Linked DNA regions of Homo sapiens: region 1 is linked to region 2. The links are contacts of gene promoters, found by promoter capture Hi-C in blood cells and fetal thymus (Javierre and others, 2016). All regions are on one chromosome and are shown on one strand. Each heading gives the region's core, a stretch centred on a gene start or on the middle of the fragment in contact. The rest is flanking DNA. Distances are from core to core; before and after follow the strand shown. Region 1 holds the start of ZNF678 (zinc finger protein 678). Region 2 holds the start of WNT9A (Wnt family member 9A).

What was found. The method cuts DNA at HindIII sites, captures the fragments that hold promoters and counts their contacts. A CHiCAGO score of 5 or more calls a contact.
Region 1: the fragment with the promoter of ZNF678 here is called in contact with the fragment with the promoter of WNT9A in region 2 in 6 of 17 cell types (total CD4 T cells, megakaryocytes, endothelial precursors and 3 more); the score reaches 10.1 in total CD4 T cells.

What each region holds. Positions count from the first base shown.
Region 1 is chr1:227,560,891-227,564,825 of GRCh38, forward strand. It overlaps ZNF678 (zinc finger protein 678), which reads left to right and starts at 2,666. Exons shown (of 4, transcript NM_001367909.1): 1 at 2,666-2,834. It also overlaps the pseudogene RNA5SP77. RefSeq lists an enhancer at 2,622-2,901. The HindIII fragment of the contact is 3,691 bases long and covers 1-3,197 here.
Region 2 is chr1:227,946,465-227,950,524 of GRCh38, forward strand. WNT9A (Wnt family member 9A) reads right to left here and starts at 1,468. Exons shown (of 4, transcript NM_003395.4): 1 at 1,329-1,468. The coding sequence starts at 1,423. It overlaps LOC124904533 (a long non-coding RNA gene), which reads left to right. Exons shown (of 2, transcript XR_007066912.1): 2 at 238-839. RefSeq lists silencers at 290-399, 1,503-1,582 and an enhancer at 1,373-1,422. The HindIII fragment of the contact is 8,120 bases long and covers 1-1,979 here.

The DNA.
Region 1 (3,935 bases), core at 1,416-3,915, 380 kb before region 2:
GAGGCCTCTGGCGCCCACGCCCGGCAGCAGGGCGGCGCTGTGGCTGTCCCACGCTTGGCCTGGCCACCAGCTACTGCGGGAGGCTCTGGGAGGCCAGCGGAAGGCGCAGCGCGCGGTGGACGGTGCTCGGGCGTAGAGGGGGAGAGCGGCCGGTAGAGGGGGAGAGCAGACCAGCCCGGCCGCCGGCGAGCAGCTCAGGGGTACTTGATCCGAGCCCCGTGGACCCGGGGTTGCCGGGATGCCTGGAGTCGGGCGCGCAAGACTGAGCGGAGCTCTTAGGGCTGCCAGGCGTCTATGGCCATACCACCCTGAACGCGTCCAATCTCGTCTGATCTCTCGAGGCTAAGTAGGGTCAGGCCTGGTTAGTACTTAACTGGGAGACCGCCTGGGAATAACGGGTGCTGTAGGCTTTTTGGTTTCCCGGTCCCTCCCACTTTCCTCCTTTTATCGCGATGCCTCCCAACCGCACCCTGACTCTGCTCCTCCTTTTCCGCCCGCCTGCGCCCTCGCGGTACCCTGGGACCTCCTCGTGGGGCGTCCGCCACTGCAGCACCGCCAGTTAGCAGCTTCCCAGCTCTTCCGCCTGGCAGCCACCCCATCAGTAGCCCAGCTCGCTGCCCGGGGCGGGGCGGGGAGGGCCGGGCCGGGGCCAACCTCGAAGGCTCAGGGGCGGGTTCCCTGCCGTCCAGGGTGTCTTCCCTCTCCCGGGACGCCCAGGGAATTTAATTCACTCATCCAGCGCCGCTGGCACTGTCCAAGCCGGGGGAAGGGGCGGGCAGGGGAAGCGGGCCCCACAAGACACCAGCCAAGACCTCCGCTCCAGAACGCATGGGCTACTTTCCCCAGGGGAAGGACATTGCCTTCTCCAGCCACCAGGAAAACCGTCCCTGTGCACTCGGAATCCCATTGCCACCAACTTCGTATAAACTCCATTCCGGAGGACACGAGACAGACCCAGGCCTCTGCCCCGTGGGCATGCTCGGTGCCACAGCTCTCGCTAGAGGGACGGTTGCACTCTACAAATCTCGGGGCCCACCGCACCAAGAGGACAGGGAGGAGCCAACAAAGGAAAAGTCCTATGAAACGCACCACCAAAGCAACCAATCCAACAAAAAATACGTCTCAGGGCTCTGTTGGGTCACTCCGTTAGCCCTTCCACCCTGTTCTGGCCCAGCCCAAGCACCCTCCACCCTACCCTGTCCTGCTCAAAGGGGCCCTGTCTACCGGAGCAGAACACTCCCTCTCCAAGGCTCTATGGCTCTGTAAGTCCCTCATCCTCTCTCTTCTTCTTCCCCCTCCACCTCGTGCTCTTTCTGTAGCCTTCTCTCTCTCTCTCTCTCTCTCAATCCTGACTCACTCTGCCTCTCTATCACTGTCTTTCTCTCCCTCCGTTTCTATGTCTCCATCCCTCTCTCTTGCTCTCCTTCAAGCTGCCTGTGTCTGTGTCTTTGTCTGTGTGTCTGTGTGTGGGTGTATGTTTGCAGGAGGGGCAGCGAGGTGTGTCTGGGTGCGTCTCAGCCCCTCTCTCCCGGGATCCAGGGTGTGTGTGTTGGGGGGAAGCTGTGGAAAGGGTGTTGAAGGAAAGTGACAATCAGCTTCCTGAAGGGCACTGACAGGCCATTATTCCTGTGGCTTGGCAAATTTTCTGTTTGAACTTATTTCTTGTTAAGGGTCCAAGTGTACTGACTATGGAGATAAGAAAAGAATAGCTCTAAGTAGCTGAAGCTCTGTGAGGTACGGAAGATTTTTCTGGCCCAGAGAGACTTGAGTATGGGATTTGAGACACATCTCCACACCCTTTCCCAGGGGCAATTGTTTAAAGGTATGTTGTTCCTAACTAGCTGTCTCATCTGGAATTTGTGATACAAAGAACAATGTATAGCCAGTCAGTGACTTCTGGATTTTAATGTAAATTTTTGATGAAAATTTTAGGAACTGCCTCTTTTCTTAAAACCCACTTGTAATGGTTACTAGTTGGAATGTATAATCAGGGCAACTTTAGTCTATGCTCTCAGGTAGGTATCCTAAACATATGCTTTTGAATATACTTTTGAAAATAGATTCTGACTTTTTTATTATGATGGGTTGACAGGGGACTGGCCTGGGACACCTGCCTGGGTGTAAATACCCCAACCATGCGCTGCCCTGCCCAGCAGAAGAGGCGGGTGGACAGCAGGCCCCCTTTGGTCAGAAACACATGCATTGCATAGCTGTTCTGGACCTGGGTCCTGCTTGCAAGGACAGTTCCACAGGCGCACCGGAATGCGCCTCCCCTTTCCACCCGCCAGCATTCCCAAGCACGCCTCGGCTTCTGACTGTTCTGTGCTTTGGGAGGAAAACTCATCTTCAGGTTTTTCTCCAACAGAAGATGATGATGACGTTGTTTAGACACTCAGGAACAGAGATTGCAGATTGGCTTAAGAGTGCGCCCTTTATTAAAGATGGTATGCATGGAAAGACATGGAACAATTTTGGAAGGATACAAAAAAAATTGCCCATTTTGTTAATAGTCTCATTCAACCCCTTTGCTGACCTCATCTCCTGTCACTCATAACCAAAGGAGGCGGGTCCTGGAGCCCTGTCCAATCAGGGACATTGACGTGGGAACTGTCCAATCAGGAGCGCAGCTTGAGAGGCGGAGGGGGTTTCCGGGATCTGGCGGGGCCTTTGTCTTGTGCTCCAGCTGGAGCTTTGGTCCCGTATTCTCGGCTATTTATCCCCAGCTGCGGGAGGCCCTGGTGACTCTGCTGCTGCAGTGTCTGGTTTCCCTGTGACCTGCAGGTACTGGGAGTTACATAGCTAAGATGCCAGGACACCCCGAAAGCCGGAAAACGGTGAGAGTTCCCGGGAGGGTGTTCCAAGATGGCGGTCCGGCCTCCCGGCGTCAGCACTAGAGTCCGCGGCCCGGAGTCCCGGCTGGCACCTGTGGGATCTGTCACCTCTGGGTAGGGGCGGGGCCAGGCCGCCGCGGGATTCTCCTCCCATCACTGCGCCGCGGCTTCCGCCCCGGCCTCTCTGGGCGGCTATGAAGCCGCAGCCCCGCGGGTCCCCCAGACTGTGTGCTTTGTCCAGAGGGGAGGGTCATCGGGGAGAAGCCAAATCGGTGTGCGAAACATGCGTGGGAAGAGCTGTTCCATGGGGCTTATCTTAGCTGTGCAGTCCATCCTTTTTCCTGTGAAAAATGGAGTCACTTTTAAAGCTTTGAAGAGTTTGAGGAAAGGGAGTTTCATGAATGGGAGAGCGCCCAGCTATGGTGTGTGGCTTGTGGGTTTATGGAGGAGGTGCTTGAAGGAAAAACTTTTTTGTAAGGTGCATGAGGAAGCAAGCCAAATTTAATAATTGACGACAGTTACAGTCACCTTATTTGGACTGTCCAGGTGGAAATTTCCTGGTTATTTAATTACTGATTAATTGGAGTTTTGTGATTGGTTGAACTTGGATTTTGTTTCTACTTAAGGCAGTCATTAACAAGAAATGCATTTGAGCTATTAATATTCTTTTTCATGTAGAAACGCAAGACACTAGAGCCACCTCAGTCTAATTGCCTGCTAATTATTTTAACACTGCACAAGAGACTGCTTTTCCCCTGCATTTTCCAAATAACATGGAAAGCAGGGTCTTAAATCCACTCCTCTGTTCTCCCAGCCTGACTCTGGCCTGCAATAAAATACTAAATTTTCAGTTTCTTTCCAAAATTCATAAAAACCACCATCACCTCTTCAGTTCACAACACTGTCAGCTATTTGTCTTTTATTGCGTACTCCAGGCACAATATTTTAATTAATCATTTTTTCACAGAACATTGGAGGGCACTCTTTGTTGTTGCTGTTGTTGTTTTGTTTGTTTTTGTTTTTTCTTTAAGAAGGAGTCTCGCTCTGTAGCCCAGGCTGTAGTGCAGTGGCGCGATCTTGGCTCACTGCAACCTCTGCCTCCCG
Region 2 (4,060 bases), core at 218-2,717:
TCCCGGGTGAGGCTACGGGTTGCACAGATGGCGTGCAGTGGCGTGCCAGCCCAGGCCCAGGGCCGTACCCACAGTTGGAGCCAGGAGAGGGCTGCGGGTGGGGGCCCCAGGGAACTGAGACACCGGGCTGACCCTGGAAGACGACCCAGAAGAAAGGAACAGAGAGAAGAAAGGGAGAGAAAGAAAAACACAAAGGGAAAGTTTCCCATGAAAATATTTTATTTTCTTTGAGAACAGGATACACCTGCAGGGCTCCTCGGCCCAGGCGGCCTCTCCCTGCCCGGGCGGGTGCCAGATTCCTGGACCAACGGGGCCCTCTGCCGGCCAGCCCGCCGCGCGCTGGCGCTCAGGCCAGAGGGCCGGGAACAGGTGACCGGCGGAGGGCGGCGGCCCGGCTGAGGGAGCGGCCCAGGGCGTCCAGGTCGGGGGCTGGGATCCGAAGGCCAGCCAGGGCTCCCAGCGGCGGCGCTCGGGGTAGGAGGCTGGAGGGTGGCGGGGAGGCCCGGGGCGCTGCCTCGCACGGCGCCACCCTGCACCTCAGCGCGCCCAAAGCGCAGCGAGGGTCCCTGTAAAGGTCGCAGGACTGGGCATCCCAGACCTCAGAGAGGGGGAGGGAAGAAGGAAGGGAAAGAAAGGAAGAGAGAGACGCGCCGACAGCCCGGCAAAGCGCTGCTGCAGAGACACGTGAGCACGGGCAATGACACCGCGGGACGCCCCGGCCGGGCCCTGCGCTCCCGGCCAGGTTCCATGGACGCGCTCCCGCGGGCCGGGGCCCGGGCCACAGAGTCAGAAGCAAAGCGCAAGAAAAATAAATTCCTCCAGCTTGGAGGATTTCTCTCTTTCTCTCTCTCTCTCCGTTTGGGGCTCAGCGCGAGGAACATCTGGATTTTGTACGTATTTTTGTTATTGTTAAATTAACTTCTCGAGAAGAGAAAGGGGGGGAAGCTGCTAGGTGGGCGATGGCCAGGGGCTGAGGACTCAGGCTCCAGCCTTTTGGCAAGGACACGGCGGCCCAAGGAAGTCGGGACCTGATCCCAGTCCCTAAGCGCGAGGCAGTCCTGCTCACGGCGGCGACTACGACGACGACGACTCTGCGGTCACGGAGGACCGCGGCCCGGCGCAAGCCGGACGGGTCCACCCGCCTCTCTAGCCGTGCCGCGCAGCGGACGGAGCGACGCGCGCGCCGCAAACAAACAGCGCCAGGCAACCCGGCGGCCCCGCCGCGCCCCGGCCCCAGCCACCCCGGGTGCCTCGGGGACTCCGGACGACCCCGCCCCGGCCCCGCCGCCCCCGCCCACCAGTGCGCGCCGGCCGCCGAAGGCACCTACCCGAAGTAGGCGGCCGAAGGGCGCAGCGCGGCGAGCAGCAGCGTCAGCCCGAAGGCCGCGGCCAGCCAGCGCGCCAGCGGGGACCCATCCAGCATCTTGCCGCGCCTCGGCGGCCGACCATCGCGCTCCCAGCTCCGCGCAGGGCGCGCCGCGGCCGCCGCCCTCTTATAGCGCCCGGAGCGCGGCCAGCTGGGCCCGGCCCCGCCCCGCGCCCGGGAGGGGATCACGCCGGCGCCGGGGGCGGGCCGAAACCCGAGCCGCGCGCGCCAGCCCGCCAGCCCCTCCCGGCCACTCGGGGCCCCGGCCGCCGCTCCCGGCGCGGGTCTCGGGCGCGCCCTGCCCGGCGGGGATGGAGGAAGGGGAGGCGGAGAGCGGTGGGAACCGAGGGCGGGGCGTGCGAGAACCCGGGGCGACCACGGCGGGACGGCATTGGGGGGCCGGAGGCGGGCATCGGGAAGCGGGTAGAGCGTTGGGGGCGCTGCAGTGGGAGCTTGGGGCGGCCCCCGGGGCGGGATTGAGGGGGAGGGGAGGGGAGGCGTTGGCCGCCGGGCTAGCCGCCGGCGGGGCTCCAGGCCGGGACGGTCGGGGATGGTTCCACAGAGGACCCAGCCGTCTGCCCCGAGCTGGGCGCTGCGCGGCTGCTCCGGGGGAAGCTTGGTGAGGAGGAGTCGGGCCAGCCGGTGATGCCTGCGCCTCTTGCGCATGCTGACCCCCTCAAGGAGCGGGGCCAGAGAATCGCTCCTTTCTGGCAGGGACTGTGGCCGCTTTCGGCCTGGGAATGAAGCGACGTAGCCTGCTGGGGCTGTGAGGTGAGTAGCTCTACCTTTTGGGGTCCTGATGGTCTCCCCATTCTTAAATTGTGGGAGTGGAGCTAGCGGCTAAGTCAATGAAACACCAGCCATCGGGCAACGCCCTTCTCAGAGCCTGTGTCCTGGCCGGGACGGGGAGAAAGAGGACTCCTGGGATGGAAGGTGCACACCCAGGCAGCTGGAAGCGCTCAGTCACAGCCCGGGGACTCGTCCCCTCTGCGATACGGATTCGGAGCTGCTTCTGAAGCAGAATGGTGTCAGAGGACCCAGAGCTGGCATTAGGATACAGGTGCACACATTCCAGACAGACCTGGGGGTGGCATCCAGGAGAAGGCTTATAAGTTCCCTGGATGGGGCCTCTGTGCCATGCAACAAGGGACACAAGAACAGGGCTTGGGGTCCAGGCTGGCGGTGGCATGCCTGCCACCTGCAGACCCTGGTCAGTGCAGGATGGTGCCTCCAACACGGGCTAGGCTGCCAAGGCTGAGGACACAGGGCCAGCGAGCCTGCCCAGCCACGTGCTGCAGGGGCCTCAGAGACCTGGGCTGCGGTGCCAGGTCTCTAGGCAGTGCCCTCTGTGCCTGCAGGGACTGATTCTGGCACAGTGACCGCAGAACCTGGGGGGCGGAGCACATGCCCCCGGAAGGCTGTGAAATCCCGCCAGTGGCAGTGACAGAGGCGAATATGAGGGTCCTCAGAGGAAAAACAAAGAAGATAGGAGCAGCAGAAAATGGCCCCCACGAGGATCTGAGCCAACCTCGCCACCCCTAGGGCTCCCGGCCCTGCTTCCCTGGGAAAGCCTGGCCATGTGGGTCACCCCTGTGAGCATACCCTTTCTGAGTGTCTGATGGCCAGTTTGCCAGGTGAGCTTCAGGTGCATGTGGGGCAAAGCAAGGGTGGGGAAGGGAGGAGACCGGGCCTGAGCAGTCACTCCCTCTCGGGGCCTCGGTTTCCCCATCTGAGACCCATCCAACTCCAGCGAGTGGTGGCTTTTCTCCAAGGCATGATGTCCTGTGTGGGAGCCCTGGCCCCTGGTTCTGCTTTTCCACTAGGTGTGACTGGTCTCACATCCTTCCCCATCCATAGGACCCCCCTCCTGTGGGGAGAGGGCACTTGTTTGTCCTCTTTTGCTCAGGGGGCTGGGCCACCTCCCTTGAAATGGGGCTGACTCAGCAGAGGGAGTGCAGACGGCAGCCCAGCCCACCCAGGCTGCAGCGACCCCAGTGGGAGGCCCACCCGCCCCACGGCCATGGGCTCCAGTGAGCCCCCAAAGTCTGGCTCCAGCACCAGGAAGTGAGAGGCAGCAGAGGGAAGCAGACAGGACGGGAGACCCTCCCCACCCCCCACACACCCCCCTGCAATGATGGCATGCTTAAAGGCATGGAGGCTGCCTCCAAGAAGACGTGTGAGATTGTAAATGTGCATCACAAGCGCCTCCGGCATCACAGAGCTCCCTTCCACTGGGGGTGAAGCACTCTCCCAGCAGCAGCTTAGTGGTCCCCAAGGAAGGAGGCAGCTGCCTGGCCGGCTGAGGGGCAGGGGGCTCTAGTCCCAGTCCTGGACTCTCAGGACCACATTTGGTGCAAGAGGGTGCTGAGAAGGATGATCCGACATCCATGAACTCGGGAAGGACCCTGCTGTTTCGCCAGAGAAGGGAGGCCATCAGCTCATGGCAGCTTTTGGTGGTGGTGGGAGTGGCAGGCCAGCCCTGAGTGGCCCCACCAGACCCCCACTTGAAGCCCTGGCCCAGCTCCAGCCAGGAGCCTATCAGAATGCCCAGGAGCCCAGGGCATGTGGTTGGTAGGACCCAGTGCCCCAGGCAGGGTAATATCAGAGATACACCTGAGGTCTGGCAGGGCTGGCCCAGCTCTTACCTCCCTGCACCTAGGATGATGGCGGCAGATAGAGGCAGTCCCCTCAGCC